Linked DNA regions of Homo sapiens: regions 2, 3 and 4 are each linked to region 1. Evidence: promoter capture Hi-C in 16 types of primary human blood cells and fetal thymus (Javierre and others, 2016). All regions are on one chromosome and are shown on one strand. Each heading gives the region's core, a stretch centred on a gene start or on the middle of the fragment in contact. The rest is flanking DNA. Distances are from core to core; before and after follow the strand shown.

Region 1 (4,950 bases), core at 379-2,878:
CGGGGATCTAAAATGGTAGTTTCTGGTGACTCTCTGGGCATCTAGACCATGATTGGCATTATAGAGACTACCTGTGGGATGGATAAAAAGGGCTAGAATTTTCTAGGATCCCTACCTCACTTGTGGGGTGGGGCAAGAAAGAGCACATGGAAGGAAACATTCTCAAATGGTTCATAAGGAGCCTCTGGGACCCTAAGCAAACTCCCATTTCAACCCCCAGCACTCCTGTGGTGCTCAAACTAAGGGGCTGGACCCCTGCTGGGCGATACACCGCAAAGGGAGCCCCGGGAGATGAAACACTTAGACCCATTCAGTGCCTAGGAATCTCTCCCTGAGCCTTATGGAACCCGCGCAAATGATGTTTTCCCATTCCCCTGATCTCCAGTCCCCGATCGGAAGGGAGAGCCGGCGGCCACCAGGGACCCCGGCACTGGAGTGAACGCCCCCAAATCGATCGCTGGCCAGTGTGGCTTTGGGCTGTCTCGCTGGTGCCACCGAGGCCCTCTTTGGGCTCCAGCTCTCAGGACAGCCTTGCCGCCCCGAGCTCCCCAAAGCCGCAGAGCGCCGGCAGGTGCGCGGTGGAGGCGCGCCGCGGAGCGCTGCTGCCGCCCTCAGCCCGCATTCGGGAAGCCGGCGGGCTGCCGGCCGGGAAGCCCTCGGCGGGAGGCAGCGGCTCCAGTGAGCCTGCGATCGCGCGCACGCCGCGCTCCAGCCCGCGAAAGTGGCCGAGCCCACGCGGGGACTCGCCCGCCGCGGCCAAGCCGGGTCTTCTGGGGCCGGGACCCCAAAGAGGCGGGCGCGGGAGAAGCCGCCACGGGTGTGCGCGCCTGTGGGGAGAGGGCGGAGGGCGCTGCCGACTCCGAGCGCCCGGCCCAGCCGCCGCTTACCCAGCTCGGCGACGTCGGTCTGTCCTTCCGTCCCCGCTCGGTCTACCTCGGCCGCCGCCGGCTGCTGAGGGCGGCGCGAGGCCCCTCTCCCTGCCCGCAGCTCGGAATCAGGGAGACGACCAAATCCACATGGAGTCCAAATTCATTAAAATCCACGTCAAGCCACCAGACACTTATCTGTATTCCTGAAGTCGCTCCTCGGTCTCCGCTCCGCGCGCCCCTCAGTCCTCCGTCGCCCCGCAGCAGCCCGGCTGGGCGCTGTCGCCGGCTCTCAGGGGGCACCCGGAGGCGCCGAGGGGGCGTGTGGGGGCGGCCGGCGGTGTCTCTCCTGAGGAAGAAGCAGAGCCCCGGCTGTCTTCAGATTTTTCCAGCGCGACTTTCCGGGCTCCTCTGACATCAGCAATCCCGGCGCTTCCTTCCCTTCTTGCTCTCCGGTTCGTTCACAGTCCCATTTCCTCCGGGAGCCTGGCTTTCCAGATCTATTTCGAGGTTTGCTCCGCTGGCTGCGGCGCTCGCACGCCCTACCGCTCCCAAGCTCTCGGGGTCTCTCTCCGGATCGCTCGCCCTCTCGGCTGAAAAATTCCCAGCAACTGCCCTCCGCCGCCCTCCCGCTCCAGTCTGGCGCGGATGCCGCTCCTCCCGGCAGCTCTGGCTCCCGCGGTGGCGGCGGCGGCGGCGGCGGCGGCGGCGGCGGAGGAGCCCTGAGCGCCGGCCTCCCTATTTCACCATGCAGCTCATTATCATAGAGGCCGCGCGCGTTAACCCCCTCCCCGCCGGCCGCGTCCGCCCGGGCTGGGGCCGCGCCCGCTGCTGGCACCGCCCGCCACCGCCAGCACCCTGCCCCCTCCCCCGCCCGCGCGGACTTCCTCCTCCGCAAGCTGTCAACAAAGGAGAAGCAGGTTTGGCATCCGGAGGCCGCTCGGCTGCCTGTCCTGCGCCCAGCTCAGCCCGGACCCATCGGCCACCTTAAGTAGCCAAGGGGGCAAGGAAAATGCTGCCAGGGCCCGGGAATTCGAGTCGGGCCTTGCGAGCCCAGCTGGCTTGGCCCCCGGGGGAATAGAAGGTCTAGCGTTGGGGTTAGGGGGGAGCTCAGAACACAGGAAGAGTGGGTGAGGGCAGTAGGGACAGGGAATCCCCCCCATTCGCATCACCTGTCACCGCACACATCCTGCACACCTCCCTCTTCATCTGTAATTTGAGTGAGGGGTGAGTGGGGAGGAACGGGGCTTGTCTGGTAGGGTTGAGACTAGAGTCTTGGAATTTGTGGGAGCAAATTTCCTCTTCTTGTAAATTAAAAAAAGAAAAAGGCCAACAAGCTGTCAAATAAGGCTTGAAGTTGTTGTTATTATTATTATTGCAATGAGAAGATGAACCTTGCTCTGAATTGAATCTCAAACTTCCAGCCCTGATAGGGATCCTGGGCATCTGGTAAGTCCCGACTTGCATGGGGGCATTGGGGACGGGAGAAGAGCTTTCTATATCCAATTCAGAGAATCTTTCTGGCAGGGTAATCAGAGGGGTGGCAATAAGATAACTTATTTTAATAACCTAAGGTGAGAGGTTTCGGGATTCTGGATGACAATGTCTCGGTGCCCTCAAGGCCACTGATTCCTCGCCACACAGTCTCAGTAACTCCGCAGCCTCTAGACACGGCTTTCCGGAAGCGGCCTGCAAGCTGGACCCCAGCGAGTTCGCAGGATCTGCGTAGTCCCTGCTCGCGATTAGAGCGCACACGAGTTTACTCCTGTCCAAGTATTCTGATAAGCTTCCTCTACTGCCCTCTCGTGGCCACAGTCCTCAGTGGTATAAATCTAAAAAACAACAAAAATCACTGCGAATACCTAAAAGCAATTGCACCAAATTCTTAGAGCAGTAGCGGCAGAAGAAACGAAGGGAGGGAAGGATGAAGAAAGGGAGCCGGAGAAAAGAGAGAGAGAGAGGAAGAAGAAAAGGAAATCTAGACTAACCAGTCATCTCGAACAATCGCACATTCAACACAGGACTGGGGGATCTAGGCTTTACTCCAACATCTGCAGAAATCAGCGAATTCTTCAAAAGTTCTTCATTGTAATTAGCTGAAATTTGTGTTCCTGTAACTTTCACTGGCTACTGCTAGTTTTGTCCTGTGGGACCACAAAGAATCTGTCTAAGCTGTGTTGCCTGATCCATACCTGTTCTTTCCTTCAAACTTCTTTAGCATTCATTGTTGGTAACACACCAATAAATTATCATATTTACCCTGTGTTATTATTTATTTATTTTTATAAGTAGATCTTGTCTCCCCATGCAGACAGACTAGTCGATCGTTTTATCTCTGGGTAGACTGAATCTAAACCACAATTTATTAAAAAAGATGATTTGAAGAAGATGCTAGAAGATTTTGGAACACTTCCTCCATTTGTTCATGGAGTTTGGCCAGCTACACCTAAGACCAGCCGTGGTAGGATTGGAGATATCTAATTGATAAAGCTCCAAGCTGAAAATTAGGGCCCTCTGGTTCTAAATCAAGTGGTGTCTGACTCTGGAAGAGGTCACCTCTCTTCCCTATGCCTCAATTTAATCACACCTTGGGAAGATTATGATACAATTGAAATAATTTTCTCATATGCCACCCTCCACTCCTGTGGTCCAGAAATAAATCTTAGAATGAAGAGCAAGGAAGCATAAAATGAAACAGACTCTTCCACTCACCCCATCTTTTATCCCCACACCTCCCCTCTCTTTCCTGAATAAAGGGAGAGAAAGAGGGAACACAGGCGGGAGGACACATTGTGGCTGACAGGGTGGCACGACGCCATCCAGATTCCACATTGCCACTGAACAGGGTCTAAGATCTGAGTCCTGTGAGACTATGGAAGAGCCTGTGGTCAGCATAGCAATGGAAAGAGCGCTAACTTGATCTACTGGGAGGTACAGTGGATGAAGTACCTCTAACTTCTCTAGGCCACAGTTTGTCCATCTGTAAGATGGGAATTTCTGTCTTCACTCTCCAGACAACTGGGGGAATTAAAATAGATATATGTAAGCGTGTTGGAAGAAGTAATAGTATCATCAAAATGGAAAGATTGTTGTTATATTTAGTCCTAATAGGCTAGAACAAATATGGATCTTATTAGCTAAACATCTAATTACCATAACATGCTCTGAGAATTTAAAAAAAAACCAAAACCTTGGGTTCATGGTTCGTATTTAGATTTGACATCCTCTGAGGCAACAGCGGTATACCTGAACCTCTAGTCTTTACATCTGCTCGTTAACCTTCTCCCTTTGATCTGGGTATTCATTCATTTATTACGCAAATATTTATGAAGAGCAAATTTACTAAATTTCTTCCTTTAATGGAACTATATACAGTCCATAATTACTGCTTTGGCACATATTTTTAAAGAAAGCATGGCAATAACCCTACAGATTCTATAACCTCAGATCTATCTCTTTCTGAGGTTTCTGGTTTTCTTGTATGTTTCTGCCCTTCACTATATTCTTCCTCATTCTGTCCATCTGATATCAGGCCCACAGCCCCTTGGGACTGACCAGTCCTCTGTCAGGGCCTTGTAGTTCGTCCTCATTTCCATCTGGAAGGATAGATGTAGTGCAACATATTTGTGAGCAGGCTGTCGATATTTAACAAATATTTATCAAATGAATGAACAAATGAATGAATGGGGAAATGTTTATCTTATGCCAAATCCTCATCATTGGAAAATCATAGCACACTCAACAGGGTTCTCCACTCACCCCAACCTACCTACCTTCCCTAGTCAAGATATTCCTGGAACCTCACCTTGAAAGTCATTTGTCACTTCTGCATTCTTGTTCCAGGCCCCAGGCCTCTTCTTTGCTTGTCAAAGAAGCAAGCTAAGTAACTAGATGGGTTACTTAAGCAAGAGAATGAGAGAAGTGGGAGAGGACAGGGCACCAACATTCTGGAATGCCACAGAATGTTTCCTGTGAAGAATGAATATTTCTCCTGTGGAAGGCAGGTTTGGCTAAGATGCTGCCACCTGCATTTTCCAGGCTGGGAGCAGGCCTTGGCCCTGGAAAGCAAGCTCTTAGACTTTGG
Region 2 (4,704 bases), core at 2,156-4,655, 360 kb before region 1:
ATCTGAACCCTGAACCCACCCCTCCTACTTGATGTCCTAGCTGGGACAGACCCTCACTGGATTACTCTCAAGGCAAGATGTGCAACTAGATGCAAGTGGGCTGGACTTCCCTACTGATTACCATCGTCTTTTGCTCATCATCCTTTGCTCCAACCCTCAAGGCAGCCATCGCCTTTGAGGGAAGACTCTGAACCTCATCATTTCGCCTCCCCTCTGTCCTAGGGAAGAACCTATGATTAGAGGAGTTGGAGAAAAGCAAGAAGGAGATGGGGGTGGAGGAGTGCTGAAGGGAAAGGTCTGGCTTTATGGAGATAAGAATGGAAGAATCAACCTTTGTTTGGCCCCAACTGCCTCTGCCACTGTCGACACACTTGGGAGTGTTTCCTGGAGCTCCTCAGCACTCCCTCCCCAACTTCCTATGGCCTGGTAGGGGTGGGGTGGGGGTTGTTTTGGAAGCTGGGGGGAGGTACATGCTTACAGATTTTTTTTTTAATTAGGCTGCTGTCTTAATCTTGAGGGTGGAAACCAGCCCCCTCCCTGAGTTGGCTGCCAGGTCTCTAGAACAACAGTCCCCACATAGTCCTTCACTGTGTCTACTCTGACCTGGGGGGCTGGGGAGGGGGGTGGCCTGATAATAAAGGGTGCACAGGACATTGCCCCTTCCCTTTGTTTTGCATATTTTGCAGCAGTGATCAGCATGCTCCTCTTCTCAGAAGGGTGTTCATGAAGGGTACAGCTCCTAAGAACCCAACATACCACCCTCCATTTGGAAGCTCCCTGGTACATTCGGGTCTGCCTTTCTACCACTGGAAATGGATGTTTCCTCTCCCCATGGAGGAGAATAGTTGGCAGACTTGGCTAAAGGTCCTTAGCATCCTGGCTGGTGCCTGTGTCTGCTGAGGTGCTCCCTCTTCCCTGGCTGGTCCTCCCCACCACATCACTGCACAGTCTAGCTAGGTCTAATGGAGGGTGTCACTCTTGCATGCAGACACACCCAGCTAAGACAGAGTCACATAACAGATGTGTTTCAGTATCACTTTAATTGCAGTATTTAAACACATCACTTTGTATTCAGAAAAAATATCTACCCAATACTCTCTTCTCTGGAAATTTCTATTTCCAACCGTCATTGAAACCAGGATCCCTGCTCAACCCCTCTGGAAAGAAATCAACAGCAAACAAGGACCTGGGTCACCCACAGAAGAGGCAGCTGGTGATAAGGGTTAGGAGCTGATCTGGGCTATGACCATATGGGGGTGCAGAGCAAGGAAGGGGCTCAGGGTGAGGGAGGCAGAGACAGAAAAGCATCTGTTGGGGGACTGAGGCAACAGCTCAACCCAGGAGTCGGCAGGAGGGAGGAGGAAGCCATGGAGATCAGAGGATAAGGCTAGGATCCAGCCTCAGAGGAAGAGGATTTTTCGGAAGAGTACAGGTGAGAGGCTCAGCTCCAAGACCTGGTCCCATGGTCCTGCCTACTTTGATCCAGAGGGAGAAAAAGGAGCCCAAAAAGAGTTTCTGTGTGGCCCCAGAGAGACTAGAACTGAGCTGTTTGTCCTAAAACTTGGGAGGCCTGTTCTAGGCTCCAGCCAGAAAACTGTGCAGGACTCTGCAAATGGTAGAGGGGGCACATGGAGCTCAGTGGAACTTAGAGAACAAGGGAGGAGCTGGTGACCAAGTCCACAGTGTCTTGGAGGAGAGATGAGGGAAGTGGTTCAAGGCAACACGTTTTTCTGGCTATATCATTACAAGAGAGCAGGTGCAAAAGGTTACTTTGGTTTCCTCAAAGTAGAGAAAGAAAATACAGGGAAGAAACGGTAAAAATCAAAGCTTCCTGGGAGAAAATTGTAGCCTAGAAAAGCTCATCTTTCCCCTGGGGGTTCCTGTATTGCGGCAGAGAGGAGGGGGTAGGGGAAGGGGGTCCTGTGTGAGTGCTGCAAGGCCATCGATTGTTCCTGGGAGCTTCTCCAGACCTTGGCTTTCCCCCGTCACACGTTTACCCAAAGAAGACCAGAGTCTGGCTCCAGGGAGCCGAATGTGTAAAGGACAGGAGTTTACCTGCCCCTCCTCAAGGTGTAGGGCCCCAAGAACAGCCTCTGAGGTGTGTGCAGTGGGGAAGGGTTGGGCGTAAGAGATGTCACCTCCAGCATGGGGGTAGCACGTGGTCAGATGCAGAGAGGGGTGCTCTCTCGGACACTGCCCAGCCTTGCCCCACCTAGCCGAGTCACAATTCGGTATCAGCCACCACGTGTTGTCTTGCTGAATGGCCGTTTCTGGAGGTGGCCTGGCCGGTCCCGTTTTCCTGAGCCCCTCGGTTCACACTGGCCTTTCCCTGAGCCTCAGGGGAGGTCCCAGGTCCTGAGCTATAGCCCTGGCCTCCACCGTTTTCCGTGTAATAAGGGTCTTCGCCCTAGACAGTGTATAAATAAAGTAGCATTATCTGGTAAGCAGGGCTGTGAGACACTGGATGGGAGAGGGGCCCAAACAGGAAGTGGGGGCAGGGGTGGGAGAAGGGGGAGGGGGAGGTGGGAGGAAGGATCGGAGGGAGGGTGCAGCTGCATGTGCAGACTCCTTTCTTCCTGAAGAGTGGTCAGGGTTCCAGCTCCTAGAGGAGAAAGGACATAGGAGAGGCACCACACCATGCCACCGCAGCTCGGCAGCCAGCTCCCGCAGGAAAACGGGCAGTTCCAAGAAGGGTGGGATGACCTCCCCAGGGTAGGGGACAGGCCAGAGGCCAAGATTCAGACCTCAGCCTTGTCCTCCCTCATCCAGAATGGCAAATGGGGATTCTCCTTCCGTATACCTCCTTTTGAGCAAGGGGGCACCCACTGGGCATTTAACACGGTTGCAAATACAGTGTGGCTGATTAAACAGCCTGTTCTGGTGGCCCCAAGCTGAACTATCCCAGAAAACATAATGAATAGATGACACGAATCATCTGCTACCACACCGAGTAGGTGGGCTGGCACCATTACTGTCCCCTCCCCAGTTTGCTACATAATATTTTGAATCTTCCACCGATTACTGTGTGTGCACACATGCATATCTTTATGTAAGCTCACAGAAGGGCTTTTTCTAGTATTTCTCCTCCTGCTCCATGACATCCACTGAACTCCCCAGAAACCCACTATCTTCCTCATTTCCTTTACCCTGGCCCCCAGAACTGACCAGCCTTTCTCCTGTGGGGCTCCAGCTGCGGCGATTCATCAGGAAATAGCCAGTGATGCCCAAGACAGCCAGCAGGGCTCCCGAGGTGACCAGTGCAATCAGGGTCTTTTGGGAATAGCTCTGGTGGCTTGCAACATCTTGCTCAGTGAAATCTAGGATCCCCAGCTTGAAAAGAAGACAAAGAAGATACAGCCTGTCACTTGCCAAAAGTGGAGCCCAGCCCGCTCCAGCCCTCTGTGTGTGACTCAACAGTGAACAGATGCTTGAGGGCATTGACCTCAGGAATTTTTGAAATGGGATTTGAGACTGACGTCTCTTAATTCAGTCATACCCCACCATTTTTGGTTCAAGACTAGAAAGGAGAAGACTCAGAGAAGGATGGTAGGTAGAACTGGGGAAGATAATGACTTCCCCCCTTACTCCAGGGAGCCCCCCTGCCCCGGCATTCCCTCTCAGGCCCATCATCTCAGAGGACTTACCTTTTTCAGGTCAGATTGGTGCTTTTTCATAAGTTGGAGTTTGCTGGAAATTTCTAGAATTAGAAACAAGGGTTGCTAAATCTAAAGAGAAACCAGCTTATCCTGCTCCACCCTCCCATGCTGTTCTAGAAGATGCTCTGATGGCCAGGGTGGTCCATCTCGGGGGGACCGCTCCCAAAGCCAGCCAAGTCCTTCTCCCCAGCACCTGTGGTCTCTCTGGATCTAAGATGCCCCATCTCCACCCAGGATTCTCTAACCTCAGCCCTACTCCTTCCCTGTTCCCCCAGGCAGAGGTGCACCTTACCTGTTCTGTTGGCCAAGACCAGCAGTAGACACTGAGGCCTCACCTCAGACTGGGCAAGGAGCAGGGAGCATACCTGGGCCCCAGCATCAGCATCAGCCTGCTCCTCCCCACACAGCACTCGGGCCAGGCCCTCTCCCCTGTCCTTCTTAAACTCCGCCTGGGAAGACAGAGAAACATGGAGAGCAAGAGATGAAATTACTGCTCTGCCCTAAACTGCACCCAGAGTCTCTGATTACAGTCATACTCTTACCCCGTCCGCAAGAAGGATCCTTGTTTCTAAAATTCCAACAGAAAAAAAAAAAACTGCTAACTGTATATGTGCAACAACACAATAAGAAAAAAACCTAAATAATCTCCCAGGACCAAAATCCATATCTTCTAGTATCTAAGATGTTAGAGAACAAACTTAAAAAAATTGTCTCGTTGAAGCATTGCCCATGTACACATATGCAAATTAAACTCAAAAGAAATGGCCAAAAACAGAAAATATTAATAATGCAATAATAACTAAGAGAAAATATTCTGTTTCAAGATTACAGCAGTCCCCAATGATGGAAGAAAAGCCAAGGGAGGTGAGGAGGAGAGAACAAATCTATAATATACACTCAGTGGAAACCTCAGTGGCCTCCTCCCTCTTTCTACCCAAAGGAGTCTCAAAAAGTGCATTGCTCAAACTGAAATGGCATTTTTGTCTCGTCTTCCATCTCTGTTTTCCATTAAAAGCATGGAACCCAGTTTTAATGAAGTTCATAGATT
Region 3 (5,013 bases), core at 737-3,236, 490 kb before region 1:
GCCACAGAACATATCTGTTATATCACTCTTTGACACCATATATTAACAGAAATAATAATTTTCCCGCATTGAGTTTCCTATTTACCATCTCTTTAATTATACCCGCTTTAATTGCTGTCATGGAGTGTTGAATTTTATAATCCAAGATACTAAGATGTTTATCTGATATACCACCTCCACACTTAATGTCTTATAATCTCTGCCAAGAATTTAAAAATTTTTGTTGGTCGGACAGGAAGAGGAAATTCCATGGTTTGGTGAACCCAGAAATTGTTCAGTACATCTCGGTTATAAAACTGTGTTAAATACACTTAAACTCTATAATTCTATAAGACCCATTTTAGGTTTATACACTGAGCATCCAGTTCCTCACCGTCCTCTCATAGGTTAACCCTGTGTAATACAAGTTCTGCTCCCATAATTCTATGAACAAAACAGCCCTTGATATATAGGTTTGATTTTTTAAATACATTTTCTTTACTTTATTCTAAATGTAACATAAGGTCAACATAGAAAACTGAAAAGCATAAGGAAAGTGAAATATCTGTAATCTTATCAACCATTGTTAATTTTGCTGTATTCCTAGTTTCTTTTTATACATATCAATATGGTACTTTTGTTTTAATAAAAGGACTGCCAAAAGGCACATGCCAGTTTGGACTCTGCTTTTTCCACTTACAATGATATCATAGTTTCTCATATTTGGTATTCTTTTGCAATATTTGCTGCATAGAATTCCATCACACAAAGGTAACTGCCAGAAATTCTTTATTACTTTTGCTAGACACTTAGGGTTTACATTTTTTCAAAAATTAATCACATCAGAGTTTTGATCACATCAGAGCTTTGATCACAGCTCTGATGATTTCTCTGGGAACTGAGAGCCTAACACAAGTCATGTCCACTTTAAGACTTTTAACATACTGAAAAGTTATGTTACAGAGTGCTGGTCCCCCTGCAACACGTTCACTCACATTGGCTGACGTTTTAATTCTTTGCCAATCTGAGGGGAAGAAATGTCAACTCTTTGTTTGCTCTTTTAATGTCAGTCATGTCCTTTTCCTTTTACCGGTCATTCCGGTTTACTCACAATCCTACAAATCAATCCTGCTCATTCTTAATTTTCCAGTATTGTTCCTCAGATTGTTTCACCAGAAAAGTTCTCCCCCTTATCCACTCTTCACCTAACAATTTCTACCCATCCGAATCCTTCTGCATTTATTGCTTCCAGGAATTTGGCACTTAGGACACCCTTGTCCTTACATTGTTCATGCATGTATATTTCGTCTTCAATAAAAAATTTAGTTGCTCAAGGGCAAGGGCCCCATAGAGTCTCAATATTCTAATTGCCTGGTGTTGCTTAATAAATTAGATTCGGAAGGGTCCCCTCCAGGGAGGGGAGCAAAGGGCAAATTACCTTAGGGGCTGGGAGTGCAGAAGCCAAACCTTTGAGATTGTGAAAACAAGACGGCCCCGAGACGATCCAGTAGCAGGCATTCAAGCAAGAAAAACTCAAATATTGTTCCCAATAATGCCTGACTAATGCCAAATACCAAGTAAGGGCCCAGGCAGTCCTGACAGCCTGCAGTGCCCCAGGATAAAACTAACCCTGAGGGGTGCTAGCCCACGGTGACCCCCTGTCTAGACTCTGGATCTCTATTTTTAGGTCGAAGTGCTTTATTCTTGACTCCCGAATTCCCGGAAACTATTACCAAAGCAGCTTAGTTTTCTCTCCACCCTGCCTGGGTCACAAATATGACGGCGAGCCAGTCCTTTCCCGCAGGACGCCTCAGGCTTCCGGGATGGTAGGCCAAGGGCTTAGCAAGAAAAAAGGCGGCCTCGGGGAACCTGTTCTGTTAGGTTCCGCCAGGGCCTCCCCCTGACCTCTCGAAGGCCAAGGGCTGCCCATGAACGCCGAGGCTCCGCCCCGCGGCCCGCCGATTGGCCCCAGCCGCCCTGGTGACTCGACGCACTTCCGCCCCGGGCGCGGCTCGGGCCACGCCCACCTGTCCTGCAGCACTGGATGCTTTGTGAGTTGGGGATTGTTGCGTCCCATATCTGGACCCAGAAGGGACTTCCCTGCTCGGCTGGCTCTCGGTTTCTCTGCTTTCCTCCGGAGAAATAACAGCGTCTTCCGCGCCGCGCATGGAGCCTCCCGGCCGCCGCGAGTGTCCCTTTCCTTCCTGGCGCTTTCCTGGGTTGCTTCTGGCGGCCATGGTGTTGCTGCTGTACTCCTTCTCCGGTAGGACCCCGGGGCGGGTTCGCGCGTCCGCGGCGAGACTAGAGCTCTCCTCAGTCGGGCAAGAGTCGCGGGGCGGGGCTCACAGCAGGCCGTGCCTGTTTGGGGACAGGGTTCTCTGAGGGGTGCAGTGCTCAGATCCCGGGGGTATGTGGCGGGGAATGCGGGGACCACGCAGAGCCCGAGGTGAAGCTTGTTTGGTGGCGTCGTGTGCGCGGCCAGCATTTACGCAGGATCTGGCTGCGTCCCTAAAAAAAGCGTGAATCGTGTTTTCGGGATTGAGCCAGTCGGCCAGGGGAGCGCGGACTGGGCGCCCTAGGTGAGGGCTTGTTCTGGAGTGCACAGGTGCGTGGGAGTGTTGCTAGGGCCCGTGCTGTGTCCGTGGTGAGAGTTTGCCCTGTGTTCCCTTGGTGCCTTGGTGAGTGGGGTGTTCATTAGGGCTTGGACAGTACCCGCGGTAAGGGTTGCAGTGCGTCTGCTGTGCCCCATGTGCTGGGCTGGGCGAGCAGGGGCCTGGCCAGGTGTTGCTGGGAGCGTGCTGTGCGTAAGTGGCCTGTGTGCAGAGTTCACTGTGGGCAAGACAGCTCAACTGTTTGCTTTGAATGGAGTGAGCGCGGACTCTGGGGCTAGGGAGGGCATGTTGAGTGAGAGCAGGCTCTCGGTGCCTGGGGTTAGAGAGGTGGTAAGGGCGCGCCATGCTTTTTGTGCCTTCTGTGAACAGTCTCCGTGTTACCTGAGCTCCTATTAGTTTGTAAATGGCTGCTTTTTTGGGGGGTGGGTGGGCCATCGAGTCTTCTTCCTGTTCCCAACCAATATAGATAGTATCTGATTCCATTGCCTAATGGCTTTTTGACATTGTTTTCCTTCTTTTCATTACTTTGAGTCATATTTGAGAGATGTGAAACAACCTAAAAAACAATGGTAGCCAAACCTAGTGAGAAATTAGTATCCTAACAAAGGAAGGCAGATAATGTTAATCTTGTTTTCCCCTGCAGCTCATAAGCTAAAGCTTAAGGCCTATCCCACTAAATTTATTTTGTATTTCATTGAATGGAATCAATACTTTTAAAAATGCATGCTAGGCCAGGCGCAGTGGCTCACGCCTGTGATCCCAGCGCTTTGGGAGGCCCAGGCGGGGTGATTGCCTGTGCCCAGGAGTTCAAGATCAACCTGGGCAACATGGCAAAACCTTGTCTCTACAAAAAAATACAAAAATTAGCTGGGCATGGTGGTTTATGCCCGTGGTCCCAGCTACTCTGGGGGCCGAGGTAGGAGATTCACTTGAGCCCAGGAGGTGAAGGCTGCAGTGAGCTGTGATCATGCCACTGCACTCCAGCCTAGATGACAGAGTGAGACCCTGTCAAAACAAAACAAACAAACAAAAAAAAAACCCGCTAAGAAATACATGCTTATTGTGCGATACGAACAGAATCAAAAGACAGCTATTTTTAATATTTTGGCATATTTGTTTCTGCCTTCATGTGCGCGTCATGTGTATCTATGTCCAAATTATATTTAGGATCCAATAACATGTATAGTTTCTACGTTGCATTTTTTTCCTTAGGAGCATTCATTCAACGAATATGGGTCTTGTATGTCTGGTGCTATTACACTGGTAGGCAATAACAAACCATTCCTATTTTCTTGATCCTTTTTTCACTATTTGTTTACACACACATTCATGCAGGAAGATAAGCAGGGACTTTGTTTTGCTCAATGATAAGTGCTCAGTGCCGGGAACACAGTAGATAACCAATAAATTATTTGCTAAAATGTATTGGGATTGGCAGACATTAAAATCCAAAACATAATAGTGACAAATAAATTATGAACCAAGGGAAGTGCTCTGGAGGCAAGCAGTATAATTTTCAGATATAAATCTGACAGCATTTAACAAATGATTGGAGAGAGGGAAGGCTTCTCTGCTCATCAAACAGACTTTGGGGCATCTGTGCTTGCTGTTCCCTCAGCCCAGGAACATTCTCCTCCTGACCTGCTGCAGAAACAGTCTCGCTCTTCTGCAAACTCAGCTGGAATGTTACACCCTCAGAGACCTTCTCTGATCACCCCACCTCGCGACCCCCCCATCTCAGGTTGAACACATACAACCCAGTTCAAGTCCCTCTTCACTTGTAATCACCCTTTTAAAATGACCTTTTCTGTTCTTTGTCTCACCCTGTCAGAATGCAGGGATCCTGTCTGTCTTGTCGCACTTGTGGTTCCAAAAGCCCGATTTGTTTACCTCTGTATCTGTTAAATACCAGAAAATTAAATATACTATTTGGCTGGGGCTTAGAGCCTAGGAAAAAGTTCCTCCTGCCTCCAAGAGGAAGGTTCTTTAAAGAGCTATGCTCAGGATGGTCTTTCTGCGGTACCTAAAAAGCTAGGGCAGTGGCAGCTGAGAGCCAGAAAGGATCTGTCTCCCCTATTTGTTGACTCTGCAGGGCTTCCAGTACTTCAGTCTTGCATCTCACTGATCATTAAAACGTTCATTTTGAAGGAGGGTAATGGGAGTAGGGAGTAGTGGTGATAAGAAGAAAACAAAAGGACTTTTTTTTTTTTCTTTTAAGATTAATGTTTAGAATAGGCTTAGTGCTAGAAGTTCAGCCTGGACAGCATAAGCAGACCTCACCTATACAAAACATGTAAAAAAAAAAAAAAAAAATTAGCCAGGTGTGATGTTGCATGCCTGTGGTCCTAGCTACTTGGGAGACTGAAGGGGGAGGATCACTGGAGCCCCTCATGGTCAAGGCTGCAGTGAGCCCTGATCATAC
Region 4 (4,341 bases), core at 340-2,839, 270 kb before region 1:
TCAGGATTCCAGGCCAGGGACAGAGACTCTGCCTCTCTCCAGCTTTCATCTTCTTTCCAGAAGTTATGTCCATTGCAGAGATGTCCACAAGCCCAGCTCTGTGGTGTTTCTAAGCTTGCCTTTGGTTTCCTCAGACCAGCCCTTGAGGAGATTCCAAGCAAAATTTGTTCAGTAAGATTCTCATTCAATTCCCTGCCTGCTCTCTCCTATTGCTTTATAACTTTTTGCAGATTTACACACTTCCTTCCCTGTTCCCCCCCTCTTCCAGCACCTTCTCTGTTAGTGGCAGCTGCGAGGCATTAATTGTCTCCTTGAGGCCTGTCAGAGCTGTCAGGAAATGTCCCAAGGGCCGATTTCTGCCAGTGGAGGGATGCGGTGGAGCCAGGGTTTCTGGTAGACTCTGCTCAAGAATTGACGGTCCCCTCCCAGCTCAGAGGTGATACTGAAAGGGACACATAAACATTGCCCCACTCCCTCTCTGTTTGGAGGATTTCCTAAGGCTCGTCCAGTCACTGTGCTTGGGATGGCTTGAGGAGGAGATGAAGGGAGCATGGCAGGTGGGTGGATTTATCTAGAGTGGGAGAGAGAGCCAGGGAAAGTCCTGAAAGGTCCCAGCTGGCCAGAAGAACCTCATTCGCCAGAAGGATCTCAATGAGATAAATAGAAAATTAAAATGAAGATGGGGGAGGAAGACAGGCAGAGCAGACCTCCGGAAAATGCCGAGGGGCCAGAAAAAAGGGATATTGAGAGATGGAATAAAAGAAATACAGAAGTCTATGGCAAGAGCTCGCAGTTCCTGTCTCCAGCATGGATGGGCATGTTTTGGGGTTTGGGGATCTCTGCTCCCTTAGTCTCTACTGTGTTATTTCCTCCGGAGGAGAGAGGGGGTGCTGCCTCCAAAGTGAGGCACATTCCTGACGCACTCCCTATTTTGTGTGGAGGTGCACTGAGTGCCCAGGGTCTGAGTAAATAGCAGGAATCTCACAGGTGGGTTGTGTTTTACCAAACGCTTCACACCCACCCCCCAGACTGCAGACTACCTTTGGTTAGGCTTTTCCAAAGAGGTGGACTGTGGGAGGAAATGCTGTGGACTGAAGTGTGGGCTCCCAGGGCCACTTGTCTCTGCGGGAATTGGTGGACACAGGAGGACTTCCGACAAATGTTCCAGTCTTTGTCTTGCAACTCCCAGCTCTTTGTACCAATGGTGCACGCTACTCCCGGCTGAAGTTTGAGGATGACGCTAACCAGGTTGTCCAGACTGGACTGTAGCTCTTAGAGCACTGATGGTGCTTGGGCTGTTCTTTGGGTTCCAGAGTTGAACAAAGTTAAACAGTGCTTCTTCCCCTGACTTACTTTTTGGTATTCTTTGCTTTCCATCTCTTCTCTACTTTGGCTAATTTTTCTCCACTTCTTTCTGTTTTTTTTTCCCTCTTGCTCTCTACATTCTACAACTTTGATTGTGGGTTTGATACAATCTCAACGAAATTGTAAATACTAACTCATTTTGGTTTCATGCTTTTCTTTTTAAAATAAATGATTAAGTTCTACATATGTGTATATTTTAAATTGACAATTGTAATTTTAAAGGAGAAAAAGATTAGTGACTCTGATTCCAGGGTTCTATAAACTTGGATGTAATATTCCATTTTCATTTACTAATTTTAATAAAAATTATTACAACATGAATTGTAAAGTAATAATATGTAAATTATCTAGAGAAACCAACAAAGCACTCAATTTTAGCCCCTAAATGTAGTAATTAATTCTGGATGATCATCTAAGGTTTGGAGGGTGAATTTTAATAGGTGTACGTTTGGGTAATAAAATGAAATTTTACTATTATTTGAGAGTCTCAAACTGCTTCAATCAATTAACTTGTTCTGTCTAAAGAGGCAGCTTTTGTGCTGTTTTAACAGTGAAAGCTGAGTTTCTTGGTTCTATCACTTCATTTTCATAGAGCCACAACCAGCATTAGCCTCCCACATGCTGTCCAAAGAGCAGGTTGCTGGGTTTTTTTTGTTTGTTTGTTTATTTAAATTGAAAAGCCTTGTGTTAGACATCCTCAAAAGATACAAGGAAAGTGAGAAATGCTACTTTTGTCCTTAAAAAGACAAGGCAGAGTTAGAAAATGTGCCTGTCCCAAAGATGTCATTAAGAACGTTACAAAACAAAACCAGCTGTTAAAAAAAAAAAAAAGTGACGTGACGTGCGAGAGAATTGGAGAATGGGGAACTGGGTTTTGTATTTGTCATATCTCACAGTTTTTCTCACATTGTCCCCTGTGCCTAGACTGCCTGTCCCATACTCTATGTCTCATACATTCCTGGCATCCCTTCCCCTTCCCCTCCTTGGTAGAAGTGACTGCTCCTCCTTTGGGTGGTCACTGTGTCTGCTCCATGCTTCTATTAACATCTTCTTGCATTTTAATATTATTCCATGTTTGTAAATTTAAGATTCAAGAAGCTCAGTAAACCACAAACAGGATAAACTCAAGGAAAACTTCACCTAATCTCATAGTCAAAATGGTGAAAATCAAAGCAAAGAAAGACTCTTTAAAGCTGCTAGAGGAAAAGCTACACATTACATATACACAGGTTCTGAGGGCTGCAGGTTTCTTCTTGTCCCATGAAGGTCAGAAGATGGGATCAACATCTCTAAAGTACTAAAAGAAGGAACTGTCAACTCAGGATTCTACATCCAGCAGAAATATCCTGCAGGTGTGAAGTCAAAATAGAGCTACTCTCAGATGCAGCAAAAGTGAGATAATTTATTACCAGAATACATTTTCTGTAATAAATGATAAAGGAAATTCATCAGAGGCTAAAAGATAATGATAACAAAAGAAAGTTGGATTTTAGGGAATGAAGGAAGAGCAACAGAAGTGGTAAATATCTGGGTAAATATAAGAGACTTTTTAAAAAAGTTTTAAAAAACACCTAGGACCATTGGAAGCAAAACTTATAACATAAGCTGGTGGAGTTTTTAATGTGTGAGGATATAGTCAAATGACAATTATAACATAGAAGTCATTTGAAGGGAATATTAAAGGACTTTTATGTGGTTGCAAAGCTTCTATATTTTACTTGAATGTGAAAATATATATATATAGTAATCTCTAAAGCAACCACTAAAAAATAATACAAACAGATTTAGCCACAATGCTAATGATAAATTTAAAAAGACTACTAAAAATTATCTAAGTAACCCAAAAGAAGGCTGAAAAAGGGGCATATAGGAAAGAAACTAGAGGGAGGCTGGGCACAGTTGTTCATGCCTATAATCCGAGGACTTTGGTAGGCCAAGGCAGGAGGATCACTTGAGCCCAGGAGTTTGAGACCAGCTTGGCCAACATAGCAAGACTCCATCTCTACAAAAAATTAAGAAAAAAAAATTAGCCAGGCATGATGGCATGTGCTTGTAGTCCCAGCTACTCAGGAGGCTGAGGGGGGATCACTTGAGCTCAGGAGTTTGAGGCTATAGTGATCTATGATGGTGACACTGCACTTCAGTCCAGATGACAGAGCAAGACACTGTCTCAAAAACAGAAAAACAAATAAAAAAAGAAGAGACAAATGGAAATCAAAGAGTAAAGTGGTAGAACTAAATCCAACAATATGAATAAGTACATTAAATGCTGATGATCTAAACCCTTCAATTAAAAGTCCAGGATTGACAGAGTGAATAAAAAGGCAAGTTGTTATTATATGCTGCCGTCAAATGACACATTTCAAATGCAAAGGCACAGATAGGTTTAAAGTAAATATATACCATGCAAATAATAAGCATAAGAAGCCTAGAATGGCTATTTTTAAATCAGCTAAAATAGATTTCAAGACAAAGAGTATCACTAGAGATAAAGAGGGACATTTCATAATGATAAAAGGGACAGTTCATCCAGAAGACATAGCAATTATAAATGTATATGAACCTAGTAACAGAACCATTCCAATCCTGGAAATAAAAACAATAAAAAGGAATGAACCTTGATACATAACCGAGATGAATCTGAAATCATTATATTTAGTAAAAAAAAAAAAGCCAGGCAAAAAATAGCACATACCATATAATTTCATTTATATAAAATTCTGGAAAATACACACTAATTTATAGTGACAGAAAGTAGATTAGTGGTTGCTTACAAATGGAGGTAGAGGCAGGCATGGATGTTGAAGAACACAAATAAGTTTTTGGAAGTGATGGAAATGTTTGTTGTCTTTATCATGGCAATTTTTTTGAATGTAAAATGGTCAAAACTCAACAAACTACATTTAAATATGGAGTTTAGTGTACTTCAGTTATAACTCAGTAAGATTGGAGAAAAATAAATGCCTAAAAAAAGTA

What was found. Contacts are between HindIII fragments. The CHiCAGO score rates a contact against its expected background, and 5 or more counts as called.
Region 2: a contact is called between a fragment that was not itself captured here and the fragment with the promoter of PLXNA2 in region 1, in 1 of 17 cell types (fetal thymus). The highest score is 6.2, in fetal thymus.
Region 3: a contact is called between the fragment with the promoter of CD46 here and the fragment with the promoter of PLXNA2 in region 1, in 1 of 17 cell types (fetal thymus). The highest score is 6.8, in fetal thymus.
Region 4: a fragment that was not itself captured here is called in contact with the fragment with the promoter of PLXNA2 in region 1 in 2 of 17 cell types (monocytes and naive B cells); the score reaches 6.0 in monocytes.

What each region holds. Positions count from the first base shown.
Region 1 is chr1:208,242,756-208,247,705 of GRCh38, forward strand. PLXNA2 (plexin A2) reads right to left here and starts at 1,629. Exons shown (of 32, transcript NM_025179.4): 1 at 888-1,629. RefSeq lists enhancers at 167-668, 669-1,168 and a silencer at 1,687-1,746. The HindIII fragment of the contact is 7,265 bases long and covers 1-2,650 here.
Region 2 is chr1:207,885,517-207,890,220 of GRCh38, forward strand. CD34 (CD34 molecule) reads right to left here. Exons shown (of 8, transcript NM_001025109.2): 5 at 3,949-4,105; 6 at 3,645-3,697; 7 at 3,166-3,330; 8 at 1-2,407. The coding sequence ends at 2,222. Among named protein-coding and RNA genes, the nearest start is that of CD34, 23 kb to the right of the region's middle. The HindIII fragment of the contact is 3,160 bases long and covers 1,826-4,704 here.
Region 3 is chr1:207,750,068-207,755,080 of GRCh38, forward strand. It overlaps CD46 (CD46 molecule), which reads left to right and starts at 1,987. Exons shown (of 13, transcript NM_172351.3): 1 at 1,987-2,242. The coding sequence starts at 2,146. RefSeq lists silencers at 1,828-1,937, 2,517-2,874 and an enhancer at 2,038-2,247. The HindIII fragment of the contact is 3,093 bases long and covers 1-2,429 here.
Region 4 is chr1:207,972,105-207,976,445 of GRCh38, forward strand. No RefSeq gene overlaps it. Among named protein-coding and RNA genes, the nearest start is that of LINC02767, 15 kb to the left of the region's middle. The HindIII fragment of the contact is 2,955 bases long and covers 113-3,067 here.